Linked DNA regions of Homo sapiens: regions 2, 3 and 4 are each linked to region 1. Evidence: promoter capture Hi-C in 16 types of primary human blood cells and fetal thymus (Javierre and others, 2016). All regions are on one chromosome and are shown on one strand. The core of a region is centred on a gene start or on the middle of the fragment in contact, and the rest is flanking DNA. Distances in the headings are between cores, read along the strand shown. Region 1 holds the start of GATA6-AS1 (GATA6 antisense RNA 1 (head to head)). Region 2 has its middle 37 kb from the start of CTAGE1. Region 3 has its middle 55 kb from the start of CTAGE1. Region 4 has its middle 19 kb from the start of CTAGE1.

What was found. Contacts are between HindIII fragments. The CHiCAGO score rates a contact against its expected background, and 5 or more counts as called.
Region 2: a fragment that was not itself captured here is called in contact with the fragment with the promoter of GATA6-AS1 in region 1 in 1 of 17 cell types (total CD8 T cells); the score reaches 5.6 in total CD8 T cells.
Region 3: a fragment that was not itself captured here is called in contact with the fragment with the promoter of GATA6-AS1 in region 1 in 2 of 17 cell types (naive CD8 T cells and total CD8 T cells); the score reaches 6.0 in naive CD8 T cells.
Region 4: a fragment that was not itself captured here is called in contact with the fragment with the promoter of GATA6-AS1 in region 1 in 1 of 17 cell types (endothelial precursors); the score reaches 5.0 in endothelial precursors.

Annotation. Positions count from the first base shown.
Region 1 is chr18:22,167,083-22,170,217 of GRCh38, reverse strand. It overlaps GATA6-AS1 (GATA6 antisense RNA 1 (head to head)), which reads left to right and starts at 1,250. Exons shown (of 2, transcript NR_102763.1): 1 at 1,250-1,551; 2 at 1,835-3,135. It overlaps GATA6 (GATA binding protein 6), which reads right to left and starts at 629. Exons shown (of 7, transcript NM_005257.6): 1 at 536-629. RefSeq lists an enhancer at 2,481-2,984. The HindIII fragment of the contact is 8,900 bases long and covers 1-3,135 here.
Region 2 is chr18:22,379,188-22,382,255 of GRCh38, reverse strand. No RefSeq gene overlaps it. Among named protein-coding and RNA genes, the nearest start is that of CTAGE1, 37 kb to the left of the region's middle. The HindIII fragment of the contact is 5,755 bases long and covers 1-3,068 here.
Region 3 is chr18:22,361,121-22,364,400 of GRCh38, reverse strand. No RefSeq gene overlaps it. Among named protein-coding and RNA genes, the nearest start is that of CTAGE1, 55 kb to the left of the region's middle. The HindIII fragment of the contact is 8,909 bases long and covers 1-3,280 here.
Region 4 is chr18:22,397,569-22,400,653 of GRCh38, reverse strand. No RefSeq gene overlaps it. Among named protein-coding and RNA genes, the nearest start is that of CTAGE1, 19 kb to the left of the region's middle. The HindIII fragment of the contact is 2,683 bases long and covers 233-2,915 here.

The DNA of each region.
Region 1 (3,135 bases), core at 1-2,500:
GAGAAAAGGAGGGGGAACGCAACGGGCTGGGGAGGGGGGAGCGTGAGACCGCCCCAGAGCCGAGGCGACCCCAAATGGGAGAGCAGGAAGAATGACAGGGAGACTCGGAGCGAGTGGGGGAGGGAGGTGAAATGCAGCCGGGCTGGCCTCCTCCAGGCTGCTCTTCCAAATCGCCTCGGCTCATCGGAGATTACCACACTAAAATTAATGCCCACACACAGACCTGGCTAGATAGCAAGAAAGAAGTTTCTCTGCCTGCCTAACTACCGGCTCCCGCCCCTTTGCGCCGAGATAACTCGGAGATAAGGCTGCGCGCAGATAAGCGCTTCGAGGAGAGAAAAAGAGACTAGAAGTTGGTCCGCGGTGTCCCGGGAGCCTGGGAGCCGCCTCAGCCCGCCCGGAGGGAAGGAGGGAAACACCGTCGGAGCCGACCGCGGCCTGGAGAGGGCCGGAGAGCCGGAGGCCAGGGGCCCGCGACGAGTAGGGGTGGAGGGGAGGAAAGCGGGGAGATCGCGCGAGGAGGAAGCAGCCGAACCTCGGGCGGGCGCTGCGCATGGAGAACGGCCGCGGCGGAGGGTGCTCCCAGGCGCGGAGAGAAGCCGAGGGCGCCAGCGGGCGAGCGCGAGTCCGGGGTCTGCGCCGCGCTGCTGGTGAATAAAAAGGAGAGAGGAGGCGCCTCTTACTGCTCTGCCGGAAAACTGCAGCCTGGGCTCCTGATTGGACTCACCGAGCCCTAAACAAACAGCGCTCGCCGAAGGGTGCCAGGCTGTGGGTCGGAACTGCGCTCAGCGAGCAGCTGGGCGCTGGAGGTGAAGAGGAGGAGGAGGGATCGAGGGGAGGAGAGAAAAGAGGGTGGGGAGGGGACGGCGAGGGGGGAGGGGAGCGCGCCGCCCAGGCAGACAATGAGAGCCGCGCTGCCTGCGGGCGTGGGCTGAGCCGCAAGCCCTGTCCCCGGAGTGGGGGCGAGTCCACCCGGGGGGCACCGAGCCCAGGGACCCCGGGGGAGGGGCGGAGGCCACAGAACGCCTGACCTGGCTAGCGACCCGCACCCATCCAGCGGCGGTGCACCCTCCCGCTCCCGCAGTCGCACACACACACCCACACGAGGGAGGGGGAGGGAGCCTTGGCACGGGAGGAGTTGGCAGTGCACAGTCCCGCGCCGCCGCCGCGGCGGGAGGGGCGCTCCAGACCTTGGGTCAGCACGCCCCCAGAAGGAAGGGGGAACGTGCTCTGCGCCCCCCCGCCCCCCAACCCCCGCCTAGCCCCTTCACAGCAAATGCGCTTTTTGCCCTGAAGTTGTGTGAGACCGACCTTAAACTTTCTCCGACCCTATCTCGGGATGCTACGGCTCAGGTCGTGGTGGTTTCGGGAACCTCAAGACAACATTCCCCAGCTGACCTTTGGGAACTTTAACTCGGGTCGTCATGTACGGAAAGGTAGTCTATGGGGTACGCAGAATGGAAAAGGGCTTCCACATCAGTCGTGTCCGAGGACGCTCTCCAACTTTTGATGTCCCTGGAGAGTTTCTGATATTTCCCTGGAGAGTTTCAGGTAAGTCACAGATAAGTCACTGCGAAGAGGGGGTGTCACCTTCCCTGGACCCAGCGCTAAATGCTGCTTCCCCACCCCCACGTTCATATACACACCCCCTCTTCGCTCCCTCCAAACAGTTATCACAACTCTGTACAAACTGATACGGTCCCTAGCGGGCAAAAGGGACTGGAAATGAACGTCGCGGGGTTATCAGCGCCGATCTGTCAGCGGCAACTCGCGCGGCCGCAGGCTCGTCCGCTGCAGGAGCCGTGATATATGTCTCGCTCCCTTTCGCTTACAGAAAGGATTTCTTCCGACAGACGTGACCCCAGAAGGCTGCCGAGGGAGACTTTAGGACAAGAGGCGTTGTTTTTGTGAGAATGAATTTTTATACTTTACCCCGACCCCACCCCCTACCCCCCGCCCAGGTAAATCCAAGTAAATGATTTTCTGAAGGTCGGTCTCCTAGAAAGCGTTTAGGCTCTGGTTTTTTGTTTTGTTTCTATTTTCGTGTTTTCCCAGTTAGGGAAGGAAGAGGAGCCTGTGCAGAGTTGAACTGGGGTGGAGAGGTGCCTTGTAAAGTATGGTTTCCAGAGATGGTGAGACCTCGTAGCTAAGCGTTGTTTCCTCTGCACGTAACTGTGAGTTGTGAACTTGTGGCTCCTGGGGGAGCGGGACAGGGCCTGGCAGTGCGGGGGAGGGGGCAAGGAATTCAGGAAGTTGGCGAGAATTCTTCGTTTTTCATTCTTCGTTGTAAATTGCTTCTAAACACTTCTGAATTTTAAATTGCTACCGAGAAGGTCCAGAAACCGTTCTCATCCAATTTAGTCACTTTTATTACGTTCCACTTTGCCTCCCCCAATCACTGCGGCGGCTCCCAGTTTCAGCGTGGCCGCATTTGGAAAAGGCTGAAGGTAGAAAACTCTGGAATGGAGAGGCTGGCGACTGGAGCAGGATCCAGGGGCTTTAAATTTTAACCTGAATGCGATCGAATGCGCGACTCCCAGAAGAGATAGCCAGGCGTCCGCCCGGCCGCTCAACCCCCGCCAGGACTCGGAATGCCTTGCTTTTGGTTCTTTTCGTGAGTTCCGACCAAATGTTTAAGTGGACTGGGTTTTGCAGAAGCTCATTTGTAAGCACTGACGGAAATGGGTTGTGGGCATTTGATTTCCTTTGATTCCAACGTTTTGAAATAATGTTTCTCGGATTTGCTATTCGAAGCAATTTTCTAAAAACTCATATCTTATTTGCTAAAAATAAACTCTTTGGCTCAGTTTGTGTCCAGGCTGTGTACGGCCTCCAACCCTGAGCCCCGAGGAGATCGAGCCCTGGCGCGAGCCTGATCTCTGTCCTGTGTGTTTCTTTGTATTTGCAAGTACAAGGATGTCTGCGTGGATATCCCTGGACACTCGATACCCCCCGGGGACCTGCTTTTCCCGCAGCTCCGCAGACGCGGCGGGAGGGCGCGCTGGCCCCGGCGCTGCTGGGACAGAGGTGAGCAGCGGGGTGGACATTGACCGATTCGACAACGTTCGGGCTCTAAGGGCTCGGGAAGGGACCCGGCATTTTACCCTCCAGATTCCCAATCTATTTTTAAAAATA
Region 2 (3,068 bases), core at 541-3,040, 210 kb before region 1:
ACAAACAGCAATAAAATTTCTCTTAGAGACTGTACTATATTTGCTTAGGAAGACACTTCATTAAATATCTTGGGGTGGAGGTATGAGCCTGAAAGCAAGGTCTACTGGAGGATGAAAACATAAGGGAATAGCTAGCTAGCTCTGTATTAGAAATAAAGAGGAATTATGGATGAGGAAAAGCAATGAAGAAGGAACGTAGAAAGGAATCGGAGGGAACTGCCAAGCACCATCAAGTATGGCCCCAGGACTTCCAGATATCTTAAAGCAGAGCTTCTCAACAAAGACACATAGAGAGGATAACTCATTTGGGGAGGGCTGTCCTGTGCCTTGCAGCATCCTTGGTCTCTACTATCTTAAATGACAGTAGCACTTGTAACAACCAAAAATGTTGTAACAATCAAAAGCGTCTCTAGTTGTTGCCAAATGTCCTTCGAGTGGCAAAATCACCCCTGTTGAGAACCCTCCCTCCTCAAATGCCCTAAACCTTAAGTGGAGTCTACCAGATATGCAAATATTTTATATAAGTTGTTTCTCTTGGGATATGCAAGGAAGGGGCAAATTCCACAACTGGGGTCAGTGCAAGTCACAGAGTAGAGAGCAAGAGTCCAGCAGAAGGAGGAAGGAAGAGCCCAAAGTGGCCACCTTCCCCTCACCTCCCAAACCCCAGAAATTCATGTAGCTTGCAGTGGGCATTGTGTGTTTATCTTGAATGTGAAAAGGGGAGGGAGGCGAACTAAATTTCCAAGATTTAAAGAGACAGGGAGAATATAAATAGATACATACATAAAGTAAGAAGGCATAGGATAATACACGTTAAGGCTTCCTCCCCAACGTCCATGCCATCTCTTAACACCTCCACCATTGGGTGAAGACATGGTGTTTGGGTGCATCCTCCCGCCCCTACCTCCCAAGGATCCAAGTTGTTCAAACAGGGTATTCTCGGGTCCCTTGTTTTAGTGATTAGTTCACAAGTGGGCCAATCCAAGTAGAGCTCAGGACTCTTATGCAAAAGCTATGAGAAGTGGGGCTCTTCCTCCCTGTGAAGATGGATGTGAGAGCCTGAATCCTAGTCTTGTTGCCAGAAGGGAAGCCAGCCCGAGAATAAAGCCAATCAATATACAAGAGTCACTAGAGAACGATGAAGAAACTGAGCAGGAGGTCTAATCAAGCCAGGCATGAAACCTACCCTGCCACTGAATGTTTCAAGTATATAAGCCAAAAAAGTTCCACTTCTTGTTTAAGCAAGTGTGAACTGGGTTTTCTGTTACAGAAGGCCTTCTCACTGATTAACATACTGATAGATAGGATATATTAAATATATATATTCACACATACACGTAATTTAAAGGACTAGATCAAAAAACATCAAAAATTAACAGTGATGTAGATTGTAGGAGTGTGGGCAACTTTAATTTCCCCTTTATGCTTATCTGAATTGTCTATAATAAATATTCATTAGTTTCACTAGCAGAAAGAAATCATTCATAATAATGTAGCATTTATGGGTGAAGTGGCATGGTTCTGGGATTTATTTTAAACTACCTTAGCAAAAAGCAAAGGTTGGAGGGAGATAGATTGAACAAATTTAGCAAGATATCCATATTGATATTGATGCTAGGTGACAGGGACATAAGGTTCATTGTACTATTCTGGCTTTCATAATTTTGAAAATTCACATAATAAAATGATGAAAGAAGGAAGGAAAGAAGGAGGGAGGGAGGGAAGGAGGGAGGGAGCGAGAGAGGGAGGGTGAATCTGCAGAGGTTGTTCTAATTACCATTGCTGGCTTTGCACTGTGCTGCATCTGTCCCAATGGGTCCTGAGTGTGCCCGTCCATTGCCTGGCGACTACAAGTTGGTGAACGCATCCTTCATAACTTCTCTGTCCTTCATCTGGATTGCACTGCTTTGGAGGTGGCTGTGAAACCTGTTGAACATCAACGCACTGCTCAGCAACCTCCCCACCCACCCCGCTCCATCACCACTGACAAAATGTGTATATTTATATTTGTATCAACTCTGCAAAAAAAAAATATATATATACATATATATATCTCTCTTCAATGTTGGACTTGTTGTCTTATTTTACAGTAGCATTTGAAATAATGTCAGATGTCCCCACTGTGACGGGGAGCTTCCATGAATGAGATTAATTCCGTGAATTGGATAAAATAAATCCAGACATTACTGAAATTAACTAATTTTCTTTATAACGCATCTGATGACAGTGATGAAAATCTGGCATCATTTAACTGTGTGCAAAGTTCTTTTCCTGCAAATGGAGACAATTCATTTAGAGTACAGCTTCATTTTCTTACATACAAAGAAAATTTAGAATGAAAAGGATTAAGTGGATTTAGAAAAACAGATACGTAGTCAAAGTGAGAAATTATGCTTCACGGGGTAATATGTAACCTTCCTGCTGTAGGTTCATGTGTTGAATCATTGAGACTACTTGTTATTTGTCTTTTAAGTTTGCATAACCAATTGCTACAAACATGGTGGCTTAAAAGAACAGAATTTATTCTTACAGTTCTGGAGGCCAGAAGTCCAAAATCAAAGTGTCCACAGGGCCACACTCCCACTGAAGGCTCTGGGTGACAATCGCTCCTTGCTCCTTCCAGCTTCTGGTGGCTGTCAGCTTTGCTTGTGGCCACAGCACTCCATCTCCATCTTCATCTTCATATGGCCTTCTCCTCCATGTCTCTGTCTCCTCTTCTCTGTCTTAGAATGACACTTGTCATAGGATTTAGGGCTCACCTGGATCATCCAGAATGATTTCATCTTGAGATCCTTAATTACATCTGCAGGTAAGACCTCTTTTTAAAAATTAGGTCACTTTCACAGGTTCTGAGTATACATACATTTTGGGTGGACTACCATTCAACCCACTACACTACTTAACTACTAACTTGGAAGCAGATGGTAACATTTCTTCAGCAGTTTTGACAATGTTACCACTGTAGCACTTTGAATGCCAACCAGTAGTTTGTGTCACTTAACCTTTCAACATCAACTTTCTTAAGAAATAGAAACTCAGCACTTAATTTTTTATTAATCATGCACTTA
Region 3 (3,280 bases), core at 324-2,823, 190 kb before region 1:
ATATATTTACTATTCATTAAGTGGAAGTGGATCTCATAAAGGTCTTCATTTTTATCATCTTCATGTTGAGTAGCAGAAGAGGAGGAAGAGGAGGGGTTGGTCTTGCTGTGTCAGGGGTGGCAGAGGCGGAAGAGGAGGAGGAGGTGGAAGGGGAGGCAGGCACACTTAGCATAAGTTTTATTGAGAAAAATCTGCATGTAAGTGGACCCACACAGTTCAAACCCATGTTGTCCAAGGGTCAGCTGTATATTCTGCTTGAAACTCATTCATTCACTTGATATATACTTATTGTGCCCCTACTACTTGCTAGATCCAGGCACTAGGGATCAGCAGAGAGCAAATCAGACAAAGTCCCTGTGTTCATGCAGCTTACCTTCTGGTGGGAGGAAATGGAAATTAACTAACAGTCTCATGGAAATACATTATGTCTGATAATGATAAGAGCTATGGAAAAAAATAAATTAGGACATGGGGGTAGTGGATGCTGGGAGAGTACTATGTATAAGGTGGTCAGGAGGTCTTTTTTGATAAGCTGATATTTGAGCAGATACCTGAAGAAAATGAGGACACCAACTATCTAAATATCTGGGGAAAGAGCATTGCGGCAGAGGATACAGCACAAGCACGAGCCTGGAGGTCAGAGAATGCCTGCTGTGCTCAAGGAAGAGCATAGAAGCCAATGTGTCTGGACAGGAGTAGTGAGAGGGAGAATGGATCAGGTCAGACACGTGGAGGGGTGAGTAATGCACACGGATCCTCCAGTCCATTGCAAAGACTTTGGAAAGGCTCTGAGAAACCACTAAACAGTCTTAAATAATAGAGTATGACATTTGTCTAAAAGGCTCATTGTGACTGTTGCGCAGAGAACAGACATTTTATTGTGTAGGGATGCAAGTAGGAAGGACAGCAGAATGACCAGTTGTAGACTACTGCCATGGTCCAGAGGAAAGATGATGGAGGAAAGATGACAGAACATGGCAGTAGTGATGGAGGCATTGAGAAATGGTCAAAGTCTGGGTATCTTTTCGGGATAGAACTGGCGACATTTGCTGAATTGGATATGGGGTATGAGATAGAGAAGATACAAGCATCACATGAAATTCTTTGAACCAAATAACTGAAAGAATGAAAAAAATCTTTTTGTGACATGGGCAATTGTTAAGAACAGTTTAGGTGGAGGGAGAGATGCAATGTCAGGGGTTTTCCTTTGAAGACAGTGAGTTTGAGATGTCTGTCAGATGGTAAAATGGAGCTGTGGTATAGGAGGCTGGATATGGGAATTTGAATTTCAGAGAAGAGGTCCAGGCTGGAGAGAGCAATGTGGGAGTTGTTAGCAGTAGGACTCACAGCCACAGGACTGGGAGGAGATTGCCTTAGAGAGTAAGGAAGGAGCCTACATCCTCAAAAACTTCATGTTTAAGGTCCACAGGTGAAAAGGAACCAACAAGGAAACTGAAAAGGAACAATCAGAACAGTATGAGGAGAACCCAGAGAAAGTGGTCCCTAGAAGCCAAGAGAAGAAAACGTTTCCAAGAGGAGAAATCACACAACTCTGTCCAATGCTGCCAGTTGCACATCATGAAGATGGAGAATCGGCCACTGGACTTGGCAATGTGGGCAGCCTCAGTAACCGTAATAAACTGTTCCTATGTGGTGACCAGGATAAAATCCTGATTAGAGGGGTTTTGAAAAAGAATAAGAGCAGAGAAAGTATACATGGGGACTTTAGGCAACTCTGAATGAGTGTTGCTGTGAAAGGGAGCAGAGGAATGGAGTAGTATCTGGAGCAGAGTAGCAGACAAGGGAAGTTTGCTTTATTTTACTATGACAAGTTGTTGCAATATCTTTTCTTGCTGATGATAATAACATAATTGAGAGGAAAAAAACTGATTGAGAGAAGGAGAGAGACTGCAATTGCTGGAGTGTGCCTCTTTATTCTGCGGACTCAAATTTTTCTTCGTTTCTAGAAAATTATCAGCCTCCTAGCCTTCCAACATTACATTTCCCCAATTCTCTGAATATCTTCATTCCAGAACTCTCATTTGGATTTGTATTGGGTCTCTTTAGTCTATCAGGCAAATCACAAAAACTCCCTTCAAATTTCCACTTCCTTATCTCTCTGTACTATATTCTGGGTGATTTCTTCAGCTCTACCTTTTGATTCAATAATTCTGCCTTCGATTATGACTAGTTTGTTCTTTGACCCATCTACTGAATTCTAAATGTCAATATTTTTCCTTTTCACAATTTCTATTTTGTTCTTTTTCAAATCTGCTTATTCTTTTATTAGAAGGTCATTTGCTTGTCATATAATTTCTATCATTTATTTCTATTCATTTTCAGAATTTCTATTTTATGTCTCTTTTGGATCGTTCTGTTTTCTCACAGTCTTGGTTACTGTGTTCCCATTTATTGCATCTGCTGACTCTACACCACGGTGGGTTTGTCCTTCATATAGTTTGCAATTTATTTTAGCTCATCTTCAGCAAAAGGTGTTTTCCAGTAGAAGTCCCATGTACCCTTACTTGTGGAAAGATCTCTTCAGATACATTTTTATCTTTGCTTCTATTAAATCCCAAGTTTTTGGTCTGACCCAAAGATATTTGTTTGTATAGTTCCTTTACAAAGACCGGTAGCCCTTTGAGTATCTGGAATTGAGGGTCTGAGTCCCAGCCCTCAAGCCATGCCTTGTCAAGATTAAGCATTAAACTCCCAGCCCGCAGTTCCTGAGACCTAAGCCCATGGCACACCTCAGCATCAACTGTAGCGCTCCCTTCTAAGTTGCAGTTTTCTTTTTGTTTGTGAAACCCACAACTTTCCCTTTCTTGCTTGCTTGAGTATATACTTTAAAGTGTTTTCTTGACACTCTTTACATTTAATATGTTTATGTATTTGCAATAGGAAACATGTCCACATAAGGTCGGTCTATCAAATATGGTAATCTCCAAAGTTCAGCATGATGTACTGGTCCCAGAACACTTTGACTGAACTCAAAATTGAAGCTGGCCTCAAAATCCTTCTCAACCTAAGAAACAACTACCATTGCGTCAGAGTTGGCATGGGAAATGAAAACTTTTCCCATCCTTGTGATGCTACACCAAAAACAATTACTATTTTGTCTTTGGGCAATTAAGAAAAGATTCATTAGCAGATCTCCATCAATTCATAGAGAGAATTCCTGATATCCAACCCTTGGGTATATTTCCTAAAACTAGAGGAGTATTTAAAGGAGGATCAAAATAACAGTGGAGTGACATTCCCTGAGTGCAGACAGATGCCC
Region 4 (3,085 bases), core at 325-2,824, 230 kb before region 1:
ACACACACACACACACACACACAGAGCCATGCTGGATACAAGCTCTATGTCACCACACATGTGTACAGACGTCTTCTCCCACTCTGGGACTTTTCCTTTCCACTTCCTTAATGGTACATCTTAATAAAGAAAAGTTATTACTTTTAGTATAATTCAATTTACCCATTTTAACCTTTACAGTTGTCAACACTTCTTTGCCTACCCCAAGATCATGTAGCTGTTCTTAAAAGCTTTGTTATTTTGCTTTTCACATTTAGATAAATGATGCACTTGGAATTGATTTTTTATGTATGATATGAGTAGGAGTCAGGATTCATCCTGGTCCCAAGTGGGTACCCAACTGACCTGGATGTTCATTGAAAAGGCAGTGGGTTGCAGAGTTTGGCTTGCATAGCTCTCACTGGGAGGCAGCACGGTGTCATCGGAGGAGTTCCTACTGGGCTCTAGTCCCAACTCTGCTACCAGCTCACTGGTTCTGTGACCCTGGGCAGGTCACCACAGCTGTCTCTGTTTACCCATATGTAAAATGAGGTTAAATTAGATCATCTTCATTGTTCCTTGCAGACGCATAAGATCAGGCAGAAGTGATGTCAGACTCCAAATATGACATGATTACTTCTGGGACCTCAGGGAGAGTATTTAACTTATCAGAGTCCCAATTTCCTTACCTAAAAGATGGGAGCAATTGTGCCCATATCTAGGGCTGCTGAAAAACAAGAAAGAAGATGTACATGAAGTTCTGTACTTGGCACATTATGTTGTTCAACAAAAGGTAACACTTGTGGTTGTTAATAGTCATTCTGGAAATATTAAGGAGAATTTGCCTTTATTTAATTTCAGTAAAAATGTAATTGGTGTCTCTAAACTTAATTACTAATTCAAATTTGTTTATGTTTGCTTGGCATGAAAGTTAAGTAGCCCTGTGAGGAGAACTTTGGTTTTGCCCCAACTTCTTTAGTCCTAAGAGATACTGTCCTGTAAAGAAGGCTAAAAATAAAGACAGAAGTTACACGGATATAAAATCAGCTTTCTCGAAATTGCTAACCATTAACCTTGAATTTAAAAGTTTTTCCTAAACACTTGTAGAACCCAGGAAAGAATGGAATGTCACAATTATACAGCCACGATGATAGTTGTCCGTGATGGATTATTAGTCTGAAATTATTAACTTTCCACAGACAAACCCAGGATTTCCCTGATTTCCTGACCCCCCGCCATTTAAGGTAGTACCCCTCCCTCATTCTTGTCTCACTCTGTTTTTCTTCATAGCAATTACAACTCCCTGACATATTTTCCTGTCTTTTTGTTAATTGTCTGTTTTCCCTTCAACTAGAACGTTAGCTCCATGGGAGCAGGAGCTTTGTTTAATTTACCTTGTATCTCAGCACCTAGAAGAATGCCTGGTACATGGCAGACATTCAGTAAGTATTGTGGAATAAATGAATGAAGGCAAAGTAGGAACCACATAAAATATGTATCAAAAGTAGTAATTATGTTCAATTAGGTCCATGCTACATTTAACATGACATAGAAATCAATAATGTATTTGGACTGCAGCACCTCTGTCAACCCCAAACTCCAATTCTTATAGATGTTCAGTAATAACACTACCACAAAAATATTAGCTCTGTTAATAATCAACACATTTTTCATAAGTGTGCCTTTGGGAACTATGAGAAGGAAATTGATATTTCCCACATATATATGCTGTCATTGTTTTTTTAAAGAGAAACTCTTCAATAAACACAATTACCGAAGGAGAAAATTATTTAAAAAGCTGGGTGTTTTGCAAATAAAAGTAGACATGGAAATCATGTTTTTATTATAAACAAATATTAAGTTTTACGTGTTGACTATTAAAAAGTTATTCAGTTTTTCCTTTACCAAAATAAATTGTTAATTAAGATAGACAAAAACCAGGAAACATTGAAGTTAGTCATTTAATTTCCTCACTTATTCAGAGCTGCCTGGAGTCATTTCCTGCAGGAATTCCATGTCTTCCCATTGAAGTGTTTCAGCAGCTGGTAACAAAATCATCCACACAGGCGGTGGGTGACACTCCAGGCTCCGATTGCAAATCAGGTTTTTATACTCACAATGGAACCAGATCGAGTTTAGAAATAAATCTAAATTCCTTCTAGAATGCTGTTTCTGCATTGCTCTAAGGGGGAATTTGGTCCAGTGGGAGGAATTGTAGACAAGGAAACCTGATTTCTACATTTGGCTCAGCACTAATTGTGTGACCTTAAATTTAACCTCCTGTGCACTAATAGCCTCGTCTATGTAAGGGTAATAACATTTAAATTTTACCTACCAAATTGTTTCTAAGATGGAAGAATCAGCCAAACTCAGCATGCAGCTATTTTTGTAGAAGTGCATGACTCCAATATATACTATTAATTTTTTTATTTTTAATTTTTAATTTTCTTAATATTTTTTGAGATGAAGTTTCACTCTTGTTGCCTAGGCTGGAGTGCAGTGGCACAATCTCAGCTCACTGCAACCTCTGCCTCCCTGGTTCAAGTGATTCTCCTCCTGCCTCAGCCTCCTGAATAGCTGGGATTTACAGGTGTCCACCACCACACCCACTTCACTTCTGTATTTTCAGTAGATACAGGGTTTCACCATGTTGGCCAGGCTGGTCTCAAACTCCTGACCTCAGGTGATCCACCCACCTAGGCCTCCCAAAGTGCTGGGACCACCGTGCCCAGCCCATATAAATTATTAATGACAACAACACTCAAGTCTTAAGAATAGAGACCTTGTCCAATAGTTTTTAGGATAGAGACCTTCATAGGATTAAACCGTGGCCAAAGCAATGCAGTAGATGACCTGGAAATCAGATAAAACTATGTCTTTTGCAGTATCATAAGAAAATTGGTAACTGTTCTTTACAGATCTGAAATGTACAAGCTTTTTTCTCATTCCTAAGTTGCTTATGTGGGAAACAGAAGCCAGTAAGTAGATCACACCATTAATTTTTGGGAAGAATAGCAAGGGATTTGATTAAACACACCCAGTGTAACTATACCGGGGGTGGGGGTGTGGGAGGATGGAACTAAAGTTCTGTAGATTGAGTGTTTGC